Regions from separate parts of the Homo sapiens genome. Here regions 2, 3 and 4 are each linked to region 1. The links are contacts of gene promoters, found by promoter capture Hi-C in blood cells and fetal thymus (Javierre and others, 2016). All regions are on one chromosome and are shown on one strand. The core of a region is centred on a gene start or on the middle of the fragment in contact, and the rest is flanking DNA. Distances in the headings are between cores, read along the strand shown. Region 1 holds the start of PSMD1 (proteasome 26S subunit, non-ATPase 1). Region 2 overlaps CAB39 (calcium binding protein 39). Region 3 has its middle 18 kb from the start of ITM2C. Region 4 overlaps GCSIR (GPR55 cis regulatory suppressor of immune response RNA).

Region 1 (3,020 bases), core at 136-2,635:
GTCAGGAGATCGAGACCATCCTAGCTAACATGGTGAAACCCTGTCTCTACTAAAAATACAAAAATTAGCCGGGTGTGGTGGCATACACCTGTAGTCCCAGCTACTTGGGAGACTGAGCAGGAGAATCGCTTGAACCCAGGAGGCGGAGGTTGCAGTGAGCCGAGATCGCGCCATTGCCCTACAGCCTGGGTGGCAGAGGGACACTCCATCTCAAAAAAAAAAAAAAAGAAGTACCTCTGTAGAATGACACCCCAAGTAATCTGTTTACTTTGCATGCACATCTTCTCGAGCCCTGCCTTTCAATCTGAGCCACAGGCTCTTCAAAAATGTTCAATAATTATATTTAATATATTTTAAACAACCACAGTTTAAGAATTCTAATTTAAACAAAAAAAGTCACAGATACAACAAAATGTGTTATCAAGCACATTTAATTCACTGGCAACCACAAGACATTGATTGTGCCCCTAGGTTACGTAGAAGGCCGTAGAAATGAACTCGCCATCGCTGTGCGATTGAAGAGTTTAGCTTGATAGTGCAAGGCCGGTGGCTGAAAAAAATGCTACCGTTTGCCCTATTCCTTGTCAAGACTTTCTCAGTACTGACTCTTGAAATAAATTGACTTCTTGAAGCTAGCATAAGACTGCAAATGGCCATTGCAACTGCCATTTCAAATTTCTGAAGATGTATTAGAAACGAAGAACCCACTGCCGTCGGGGGAAAGAGGACCTGGGCAGATAGAAGGAAAGAATGGAAGACATTTTTTCTCCCTTGGAAAGGCTTTCGCCATATAACTACTGCACATTTTAATATATTGACAACACTGGACATTTTTCCAAAAGTAAGTAAAAACCTTCATTGTTCAACTTTATAATAAGCCAATGATTACTTGTGGATTCATTATGATAATAAAGCACTTCTATGGGGATTTTCTTTTTTTTATGATAGGTTTTGCTTTAGAAAACAATTGAAAGCCACTTTTCTGGGAAAAAAAACAAAAAACAAAAAAAAACGCTGTTTGCGGCAGCCCCAATTCCCTAAGCATTATCTGGTGGGAGATGTGTTGCAGCGAGACCTCCCACCAGTAGGTGGCACTGCGCGCAATGCTCGCACCTCCCCTCAACACCCTTTCTCTCAGCAATGGCGGGTGATGGTGGGGGTCCTCTCTTTGCAGGGCTGGCCATTCTAATGCCTGACCTCAGGTGCAGACCAGTGTTCCGTTGCGCGGGACTCCTGACCTCGAGGAGGTTTAGAGAAAACAATGGTGTTCTCTGTGTACCCTTCCGCGAGGGCTGGGGAGTATACCGCCGCGCAGAAGACGCAGGCCAGGGGAGAATTCGCGCCGGGCGGCAGGCGGGGTGGCGGGCAGCCCCTGGGCGGGCGGGGTCCTGGCGAGAAGCGAGCCGGCGGCCTGAGGAGGCGACTGACTGAGCAGCGCACCCGGGGAGCAAGGAGGCGCGGTGAACTGAGCGGCCCCTGAGCTGACAGATACACTGCGCAGCTGGAACGGCGAGCGAGCCGACGGGCGAGTGAGGGGCGCAGCCATGATCACCTCGGCCGGTGAGTGCGGCCCGTAGCCAGCGCCTGGAGGGAGGAGCCGCCGCCGCGCCGGCTTTTAGCTGAGTCAGGGCCGGTGACTGGGCGCCTCCCGGCGGAACGCCGGCCTGGGCAGCTTCTTGCTGCCCAGGGCCCACCCCCGGGCCGGGGGGCTGGGAGTCTGATCAGGTCACTGCGTGCTTCTCTGGCTTGAGGGAATCGAGCCGGGTCGACCGCCTCGGCATCCCTCCCCAATCACACCCCAGCGCCAGGACCCGAGGGGCTTCCTGGGCCTTCCCCTGACCCCAGAAGGGCTTACCTTTTTTCTGTGCCTCCCATTCTTGGCCGTGTGAGGTCGTCCAGCCCCAGTTCTTGCCCGCAGGGGGCCGGGGTGGGATGGGCCCCTGTGCCATTGAACAGTAAGGCAAACCCCCCTGATCGGGCAGCCTAACTGCTACAGAAGTGTTTCTGGACGTGGCCGAGCTCCATTCGCCTTAGAATGAAACCCGAAATTAGGTTTGAGGTGGGTCATTTCTGGGTCCGATCCAAGGGTGTTCATTCAAAACACCCAGAGAACTTTTGGGTTCGGCGAAGACCCTAAAGACGCCCTGGAGATACCTTTATACTGAGAGCCTACTTATACCCTTTCGAGGTTATGTGCTCAGTCTGTTGACTGTACATTCAAGAAAGAATGGATGGATCTGCGGAGCAGGTTTCATACGCGCAAACCATTGCATAGGTAGATTCACGTAGTGACATTTGCAATGGAGTAAGTTACAGAGATCAAGTTTCAATTGGAGACTTAAGCTCCCCGTTACAGATTGACTTGCATATAGCTGTCCAGAGCCTTGGTGCTTTTTTCCGTTGCCTATTTACATACCCTTTTCTCATTTTCTTACTCTGTGTTTGACCCACAAAGAAAGCATTTTATTGTAAACAAACTGGTGAGCAGAAGACAGTAATCTGAATGGTAAGGCGATCAAAACTTTATTTTTATGAGGATTGGTTAAGGAGATCGTTGGAGATACTGGGAGACGTAGTTACTTTCAAACATTTGAAGAGCTGTCACTTGTACCTGAAATAAGACTTTTTGTCCCCAAGAGATACAAGTGATCGCGAGATGAATTTTAGTTCAGTATCAGGAAGTTTTTCCAGTCAGAGCTTTGTAAAGATCAAATAAACACTCAGTTTCTTGCCACCTATAGGCCTCATTCTATTTCAAATCCATCCATTACCAATGTTTCTTCTAACTCGGCCCAAACCACCTTCATCTCTTGTCTGGGTTACTATATCAGCCTTAAGGCTTTGTTTTCGACCATTACCTCCGTACAGCCCGTTTTTCTTGTGGACTATGCTTTTTAAAACTTTAATCACATAATACTTCTTTGCTTACAATCCACCAGTGCTTACATTGTGTTTAGAGCAGCCGTGTCCAACCCTTTGAATTCGAGGACTTTTTTTCTTACTGTGGTGGTCGGACATCG
Region 2 (3,020 bases), core at 296-2,795, 240 kb before region 1:
CATGGCTGGGTTCATGAAGGCAAATGTATGGATGAGAGTGTGGTTTAGGAAAGAGGGCACTGATATCAGATTAGACCTATGTGTTTGCACCCATCTTTGTTGGCGATCTGAGTGCAGTGTGGCAAGTGCACACCTGGCATCCCTGCGTCAGATCGCGCACCTTCAGGTCGCGCACCTTCGCTGAAGGAAGATGACGCAGAGCTTTATCTGAAATCAGAGGGGAGCTATCCAAAATGGGAGTTTGGGGGCAGCTAAAGTTGACATGCGAATAAATTGATACTGAAACTTAGCAACTTCTTAAAAGTGTAAAGAAGCCTCATAAGATCATAAGGAAAATGTATATATGCTTTTCACAGCTTTCTAGAATTTTTTGACATTTGATTTTCTTGAGACTTGTAAACCTGGATATGTTGAAGGGTATTTGTTAATTTTACTTTTCAAAGATACTTTAAAACAGTAGAGCTAGCAATGACACCTTGCATTTCATTTCAACACTGCTTCAAGGTTTCTTTTGTATATAATTCTTAGAATGCTCATTTCTTTTAAATGGTTTAATTTGTACAGCAGAGGAATGTTATTGTAGTAGTATGTAACTATTACCTAATACTGAGTTTTTGCAAAAAACAATGAATGCTCATATGTAATTGAAATACTTCAGATCACATGAAAATGCTGATTTAACATTTAAGTATCACAGCATTAAAAGAAAAAGAAAGTAAACCAGTCCTTTGTATTCAGTTACCTAATGGGGTGCCATCAATAAGCTGCGATACAGCCCTGGAGCTCAGTCAGCCACACCTTCCTGCATCCTATTGGCCTTATTCATTTTAAATGAGTTAATGAATCTGCCAGATCTGTGAATGATAGAGATTATGCTAAATTAATGCTGATTCTTTGTGTGTGTGGGAAATCTCTGTAGAGCACCTTTTCTTTCTTAGACTAAGTAACCCAGTACAATAGTTGTGAACTGAATAATTAAAACTTTGGCTTCTCTTAGGAAAAGACGACTTCCTAGTCATAGGTGTCCTATGGGGAAATTTATTTTTTTTAATGTCCTGTTCCTTAATGCTGCAAATTATCAGTATTTATAAAGTAACTGATTTTGCACCACTTTTTTGTTACTGTGACCACGGCAGAACAATGTCTTCTAGACTATATCTATGTAAAGTTATTAGAATGGTATCTGTTCATTTTAGTGATATGAAGATCACAACTAACAACTGACAAATCAGAGTTTGCCAGTTCAAATTCAGCATGGCTGCAGCTGATTAAGAAATTGATATGATTATTCTTTGCTAGCCTCTCTTACTAATGGAATTATATACTGGCCAGTAAAATGGGCCTCCCAATTGCTGTTTCAGCAGGTTTTAAACCTTCAGGAACACCAGTTAGGAAAATAGCTCCAGAAAATATAGATATATTTTATTTTTATTAAAATGGCAGTCTACATCATAATTGGCATTTCTCAAGACTGTCTTTACCAGAATCTGTGTGAAATAAGGCAATCTAGTCTCCTTGAAAAAAAAATCTCTTGGATGTTTAGGAAGGAAGACTTGGCCGTGATGTGGTGTCCTGGCTTTGTGGTGTAGTGCTGTGTGTATGGAGTTAGTGTAAAAACATGGATTACACCAAGTGGAAGAAACGTCTTCTTGCCAAGCTCATTCTTAGAACTTACACATCTAGAACAGCTTCCACTTTGGCAGTGAGGTCGTAGCCTTTTAGGTGGAAGAAGTGAGGGTGCAGCGTGTCAGACACAACATTCATGTTACTCTTACATTGGAATCTGAAGGTAGTTCAGACTTCGTGGGTTTTGTTTTTAAGCAAAACAATGTGAAAACATTTAAGTTTGAAATGTTGCATTTGAAGTTATGATCATTTAATATATTCATATTACCAAGACTATTATACTGGAAGTGGTTTTTGTGTTATAAAGGTTTAATTTTACATAAGGCAGTTACTTAATGTGATTTTTAACCCTTAAAAAAGTGGAGATGTATACATTTGTTAACAATGCCATGAAAGCATTTTCTTTCTCCTAAGGAAAAGTGAATTTCTTATCAGAATATCTGGCTGGCCCTGTAATTTAAATTAAAATAAAATTTTGGAGAAACAGCATTGTCTGTCTTTATGATGTGTTATAGACAGTTGCATTTGTGTTACTGTGAACAGCTTCATCAGGAGACACACAAGCCCGAATTTTATCACCAACTGAAAGTGGAGGGACAGTTAACACCCATTCCTGTCTGCCTTTTTCCCTGTTCAGGGGCTTCACTTCCCCCCCACCGCCCCCGTGCTCATGTTTTCCTTACCCTTCCTGAGTAAAATCACACCTTTTAATGGTACCATTTCTTAGACCCTAACGTTTGAGGAGTAGATCCTCTCTTGCGCTGTTAGCAACACCGCGAGGCTAAACTAGAACACTCGGCCCGGAGTATTCACAGGTTACTGATGTGAAATGATCATGAAGGCGAGGGGACCGTGGAAGCAGGCACAAGAACTCTGGCACCGTAAAGAATGTCCCTCGTCTGCCTTCCAGGGTGCCTCGTAATCCTTAGTTCACAGCCCTGCCCTCGACTTTAACCCCTGTCAGTAAATGAAATCTTATTCTCTGGAGTGAAGGCAAGGGACATGCTCTTGCCAAAAACACTTCATCCGAATAACAATGTCCTATTTGTTATTTCTGTCAAGTAGTTCAGTCTACTTGTACGTTGTAGTTCCCCAAAGGTGACAAGGGCCCATTAAGTCATAACTTGTGACTTGGCCACTTATAAGGATCACCAGGCTGAGGACTGGATTCACGCTTCAGCTCAAATTCCACTTCCTACCACAATCCCCCATCAAATGCCCTCCTCCCCTTGCCAAAGAAGCTCCAGAACGTTGCACTTCAGGCAGCTCAGGAGTAGTGCAGTTCTCACCCAGCCTTCCTAGTTAGGCTCCAACAAGGTCCTGATCGGGAAGTGCTCTGAGGCTGCAGTCAGTGCCCAATACCTTGTTCATGCTGGAGGTTAGAGCCACTCACG
Region 3 (3,020 bases), core at 162-2,661, 210 kb before region 1:
CCTAAAAGCAGGGACCCGGTCAATCCCTCACTGTTATTTCCAGTGCCTGGCACACAGTAGGTGCTCATTAAATGAAACTTCAGGTGGGTGGTGAACACCCTTCTCCTAAGTCAAGCGAAATTAGAAACCAAAAGGTTGTCTAGTAGGCATCCGACAGGGCAGCAGGCAGCACAGTGGAGGGGGTGTCTCAAGGACTATTTCAGCAGATGATGGAAATACGCAATGACTTTCCCCAGACCTGCAGACTCGATTTGTTGTTTAGTTCGCTCTGAACTTCATGTGTCCCTTCCTTGGGCTTGATTCACCTCCACCCCTTAGCAAGCAGCTGGTGCTTATTACACTGTTGGTTAAATGAATGAGTTTTTGAAAGCTTTCAAGTCCCTATCCTTTGAGCTCCCTGTTCTACCTCCTCTGAACACATTCTTTCCTCACACCAGGTACAGCATGACTAGTTAGGCCTCAGCTTGCCTAAGGCCTATTTACAAATAATGTCTTAGAGTGGGTCATTCCTTTCAACCATTATACTTTGATTTTTCTTAATTTCATTCTAAGGATCACATTATCTAAGTGTGTTAGTTTGCTAAGGTTGCCGTAACAAAGTACCGCGGACTGGGTGGCTGGAAGTCCAAGACCAAGGTGTCTGCAGGGTTGGTTTCTCCAGAGGCCTCTCTCCCTGGCTTGTAGATGCCATCTTCTCCCAAGGGGTCTCGTGGTCCCCCTTTTGTGTGTGTCTGTGTCCGAATCTCCTCTTCTTATAAGGACAGTGATGTAAAAGGAATGAAGGGGGCGGGGGGGTGGCCAGCACTGGATTAGGACCCACTCTAATGACCTCATTTTAATTTAATTACCTCTTTAAAGACCCTATCTCCAAATACAGTCCCATTCTGAGGTATTGGAGATTAAGACTTCAACATATGAATTGAGGATAGGGGTACAATTTAGCCCATTAAACTGTCACCAATTCCTAGACTTAACTTTTTTATTGACAACAATAATTACAGATGAAAAAATGTCCTTAAGCATAGCCCAAAAGACAGCTCAAGTTCTAAAAAGAAATGCCTCCCATACCCAGGCCAAAGAGGTCCACACTCCCTAAACAAGTACAAACTGCTAGGGGGACCCACATGCCCTTATCCCTGTGGATGAACCTGAACTTTAATCTTGTGGGTGAAACACAACTGCGTTGTGAAACATGAATATGAAAGAACAGACAAGGTAACCAGATGCATGTGCTACAGTTTTTCCTGATTGAGTTTCCACTTCTACAACAAATAGACTCTGGATTTGACAAGAGTGGGTGATCTCTAGTAGACCCGTCTTGCCCCGGCTGACTCCTGTTCATCAGCTCATCACTTCAACGATGCCTCCCCAGAAAAGCCCACCCTGACTACCCTAGCCAATGCTGGCCACCCCCCACCCTTCATTCCTCTTACGTCACTGTTTTATTTTCTTCAAAGCACTTACTCTTGGAAATAATCACACTTATTTACTTGCTTATTGCCTGTCTCCTTTCTTTAGAACATAGACGAAAGGGAATAGTAGGGCCCTTGTCTATCTTGGTTCAAGCCTGAATCCCCACAGCCTGGTGCATGAGACACCTCGCTCAATCAATAGGCATTGAATGAATGAATAAGACGCTGCTGCACTTTTAAGAGTAAGTGTGACTTTCAGGTGACTTTTTTTTTTTTTTTTGAGACAGGGTCTTACTCCGCCACCCAGGCTGGAGCGCAGTGGTGAGATCTCAGCTCATTGCAACCTCTGCCTCCCAGGTTTGAGTGACCCTCTCACCTCAGCCTCCTGAGTAGCCGGGATTACAGGCATGCACCACCATACCCGGCTAATTTTTGTATTTTTAGTGGAGACGAGGTTTCACCATGTTGGCCAAGCTGGTCTCGAACTGCTGACCTCAAGTGATCCACCCGCCTCAGCCTCCCAAAGTGCCGGGATTACCTCCCAGAGTGCTGAGCCACCGCGCCCGGCCTCAAGTGACTTTTTCATATTCACCTTCCAAACTGTATTTGTCTTTTTCTGAGTCTAAAGTGGTTAAAAATCATTTGCCTTCCTTCTGGGCGGTGACTCAAACTTGTAGCCGGGAAGGAAGGCGGAGGAGGGGAGTTCGGGGTGGAACTCAACAGTAGCAGAAGCGCGGCCCTGCAGACTGCCACAAGGGGGCGCCGCCGGAACCCAGTTTCTCTCGAGGTCTTCGCCCCGAGCGAGGCCCGGCGGGGACTCCCGGAGGCCTCAAGGGCCCTCAGCTAGGCGCCACCACCTCCAGGCCTGCGGTCCGCGAACGTGCCTCTTGCCCTCTGCAGGTTCTCCCAACCGCGGGAAGAGAGGTCCGGCCCGCGACGGAGTTCCCAGGAAGAAGGCTGGCTGCAAAAACATTCCCTTCGCAGCAACTACAAATACAGAATTCCTAGGAAGAAATTTATAATCTACCTAAAGAAAGGCACAAAGCTTTACTACGGACCATAAAGCTTAAAGTAAATGGAGAGACAAACCACATTCTTGGATGGGAAGATTATGAAAATGCTGATTCTCCCCAAAATTAAAGCAAATCCAATTTAAATCCCAACAGGTTTTTGCAAACAAGTAGCAAACCATTCTAAAATTTGTCTTGAAAAGCCAACACATTGCAATAGTCAAGATCATTAAAAAAAAAAAAAAAGTAGTGATGACCAACAATTTTGATGTTTGTTTATGTGTGTCTATCAGTGCTGGAAGGAAATATTGGTGAATATATAAGGAGGAGAGGAACTTTCTGCGTGCACAAGCAAGGAATAAACCATAATAGAAAAGTTTGATAGATTTATGTATCAAAAGAGCCTATGAATGCAATAAAGAGGCAGATGTCAAAATGGAAAAATACCAGTGACTTCTGATGGACACAGGTAATATTCTTAATATACAGAGGGGTCTTCTCTGTTTTTTATGAAGATCAACAGACAAATAGAAAACTGGGAAAGGACACAGGCAGACTATTCAGAAAGAACTATTTGACCAATAAACACATAGGAAAA
Region 4 (3,020 bases), core at 253-2,752, 160 kb before region 1:
TTTCTCTGGCCACAGAACTTGGCTCAGGAGATGACATGTGACCAATCCGAATTTTCCCTGGGGACTGATACGTGGACACCAGGGACCTCGTGCACCAGTAAGGTCGCTGCCTTCCTTCTCTGCCAGAGATGATTCTGTCTCATCCAATCAAGACTTGAGTGGACTCCAGCTTCCCAGAAAGCCTTTCTCCATCATCCCAGCCCCACGAGATCTTACCCGCTTCACTGGTAACACCCAGAATCCTCAGCACAACTGCTACCACCAGGTACTGCCTTGCTCCTTTACACTGTTATGTTGTTTGAATCTGTTATGCAGCTGATTATGTGTATTCCTATTTCTACTAGGCACACATGGTTCTACCTGGCTAACTACAGTGGATTCATTGCCCAAATGAGGTAGGCAGCTGCTTCAACATATAGAGAGGCCAGGTATCCAATATAAGGAACCACATTATCCCAGTTTGCCTGGAACTTTCCAAGCTTTAACACTGAGTAGCCTTGGTCTCCCTCAGTCCTGGACAGACTGGGACATTTGGTCACCTTGTTCAATGAGCAGGAGCAGGAGGAGAGTGTTGTCTAGGAGAAGCCCCCTTTTATTTATTTCCCTTCTGAGACAGGGTCTCGCTCTGTCACCCAGGTTGGGGTCCAGTGGCAGGATCACAGCTCATTGCAGCCTCAACCTCCCGAGCTCATGCAATCCTCCCACCTCAGCCCCCCAAGTAGCTGGGATGACAAGCACACCACCACACCCAGTTATTATTATTATTATTATTATTTTTAATAGAGACAAGGTCTCACTACATTGCCCAGGCTGGTCTCAAACTCCTGAGCTCACGCGATCCTACCACCTTGGCCTCCCAAAGTGCTTACAGGTGTGAGTCACTGCACCCGGCCGGGAAGCCTCTTTTTAAAGTAAAGGACATAGACTGCACAGATTCAGCCCAGACTCCATCTATTTATCTATTTAATTGAGCTCCTACAATTTATTGAGCTTCTACTATGTGTCTGACACTCTGCTAAGTTCTGAAGATCCAGAGATGAACAAGACCTAGTCCCTTCCCTGAAGAGTTTATAGTTCAGAGCAGGCATTAGGGAAATTTTTTGCAAAGGGCTAGATTACAAGTGTTTTCAGTTTTACAAACCATACAGTCTCTGTCATAACTACCGTGGTCTGCTGTAGCTCCAAAGCAGCCACTGCAGACAGTGTGAATGGACATGACTGTGTCCCCACAAGACTTGAAGGGCAGCAGCCTCCTGGCACAGAGGTGGAGAAAAACACACAAAGCCTCAGAGCACCTGCCAGGCCCCTGCTGAAGGTAGCAGCTCCAGGCGGCCCCATAGGCGGCATCTCACATGGCCCCATCTCCTCCGCCGTGGTTGACTGGACCAGGGAGGAGCACGTGATTCACAGGTAGCCCATCCTCAGGCTGCCAGTGATGGACACGGGTGGAGAGGCCAGCAGAGATAGTGGCCGCCAGCTGGGACAACGGTGGTAGGAGACAGAGACCGAAAGGCAGGAAGGATAGAGCAGAGCCAATAGACTTCCCTGGACCCTCAAGCCCTTCCAAACCTGAGCCGTGTTCCAGGCCCCATGGGGACCTCCCGGGAGGTCTTGCTGTGAGCCTGTCCTGGGACCCGGGCAGGCTTGCACGGAGCTGAGAGTCCTGTCTTCTTTATTTCCATGTACATCCTTCAACAAAACAGCTTTTGCTTCCTTCTTTCTTGTTTAACAATTCAGTAATTTTTAGAAAATTTATAAAGTTGTGCAACCATGCAACCATCACTGTCACCCAGCTTCCATAATAAACCTGAATGAGCTCCCTGCACTCAAGAGACCCTCACTCACCCCAGTTCCTTGTGGAAAGTTAGGGTGCCATGGGATCACAGAGGAGGGACCCCCAGCTGGGGCCAGGGGCTCCGAGAAGTCTTCCCAGAGAGACCCAAGGACAGTCAGAGAATTCCTGGGATGATGTGGGGAAGGGGGATCCCCATCACCTCTTTGACCTTTAGTGGGCAGCAAGGGCCAACATCTGACCAGGTGCCTCGTGCAGCAGGCATGGTGTAGACAGAACACTTTGTCAGATGCCGATGAATCAAGCAGCTTTCCTTTTCCTCCATACCCTCCATGCCCTCCTGTGGCAGCCTCAGTCCACCCCAGCGTCCTTAGACAGGGCCTTGCAGGCCAGGGCACACTGCAGGAAAGGGAAGAATCTGCACGTGGCTCCCTGGGGCCGTCGATGATGGGCTTTGCTGCCTGCACCACCCGAGTTTTCATCCAAGAAAACACCCTAACCTGGTATTTCCCAAGGAATTCAAGTGAAATTGTCAAAAGGGCTTACATCCCTGTTTTAAGGCTGTGGAAGAGGTCTGGCCATACAATCTCCCTCTCCCTTTCCCCTTCACCCCCAGGAAAGAGAGAATCTCCAAGCACCCATACCCAGGGCCTCTGTCTTCCCACTCCCCTCTCCCATCTCCCCATAAGGAGCCTTTCTCTTGCTGAAGCAGGAAACTTCATTTTGCTAACAGGAAGCTTCTTTGTTCCCTGCAAGAGAAACCAGCTCCAGCTAATTCAAGCAAAAGAAGGCTCTTCGCAGGGATGTGGAGCAGCTCACAGTTGCAAAGAGGTTGCTGAGCAACGTGCACTGCCTGGAGGTGACTGCAGCGGCCCTGGGCTTCCCTGGGCTCCCCCGCTGGCAGACAGAATCTGACAGCACGGTTTGGTGCAAGGGTCCCTGGCCTTGGTCCTTTGGATCACTCAGTGACAGGGAACAGGAGCCAGTCTGCTTCCCTATCCCATTAGAAGGATCTGGATTTGCTCCATTCACCCAGACCTGGGTTTCACCAGGAACTAGGGGTGTACATCATCTATGCCCAAACCCAGGGCACCCCTGAGTATACGGCATTTCCCAGTGGGCCATTAAGAAGATGCGCATACAGAAGAGATTGTTTTTCCAAGTGAGAAGATCCAGCTTGAATATACAAACTATTAGGGTTGTGCATGTAATTGTTTAAATGTCTCCT

Evidence for each region. The method cuts DNA at HindIII sites, captures the fragments that hold promoters and counts their contacts. A CHiCAGO score of 5 or more calls a contact.
Region 2: a contact is called between a fragment that was not itself captured here and the fragment with the promoter of PSMD1 in region 1, in 3 of 17 cell types (naive CD8 T cells, fetal thymus and endothelial precursors). The highest score is 8.1, in naive CD8 T cells.
Region 3: a fragment that was not itself captured here is called in contact with the fragment with the promoter of PSMD1 in region 1 in 1 of 17 cell types (fetal thymus); the score reaches 5.9 in fetal thymus.
Region 4: a fragment that was not itself captured here is called in contact with the fragment with the promoter of PSMD1 in region 1 in 1 of 17 cell types (M1 macrophages); the score reaches 5.4 in M1 macrophages.

The regions. Positions count from the first base shown.
Region 1 is chr2:231,055,482-231,058,501 of GRCh38, forward strand. PSMD1 (proteasome 26S subunit, non-ATPase 1) reads left to right here and starts at 1,386. Exons shown (of 25, transcript NM_002807.4): 1 at 1,386-1,560. The coding sequence starts at 1,545. LOC112268432 (a long non-coding RNA gene) reads right to left here and starts at 2,265. Exons shown (of 2, transcript XR_002959456.2): 1 at 1,856-2,265. RefSeq lists a silencer at 1,287-1,476. The HindIII fragment of the contact is 9,212 bases long and covers 1-3,020 here.
Region 2 is chr2:230,818,961-230,821,980 of GRCh38, forward strand. CAB39 (calcium binding protein 39) reads left to right here. Exons shown (of 9, transcript NM_016289.4): 9 at 1-2,115. Among named protein-coding and RNA genes, the nearest start is that of ITM2C, 44 kb to the right of the region's middle. The HindIII fragment of the contact is 3,617 bases long and covers 1-3,020 here.
Region 3 is chr2:230,845,917-230,848,936 of GRCh38, forward strand. No RefSeq gene overlaps it. Among named protein-coding and RNA genes, the nearest start is that of ITM2C, 18 kb to the right of the region's middle. The HindIII fragment of the contact is 2,087 bases long and covers 369-2,455 here.
Region 4 is chr2:230,896,826-230,899,845 of GRCh38, forward strand. GCSIR (GPR55 cis regulatory suppressor of immune response RNA) reads left to right here. Exons shown (of 4, transcript NR_038238.1): 3 at 1-265. Among named protein-coding and RNA genes, the nearest start is that of GCSIR, 12 kb to the left of the region's middle. The HindIII fragment of the contact is 2,050 bases long and covers 478-2,527 here.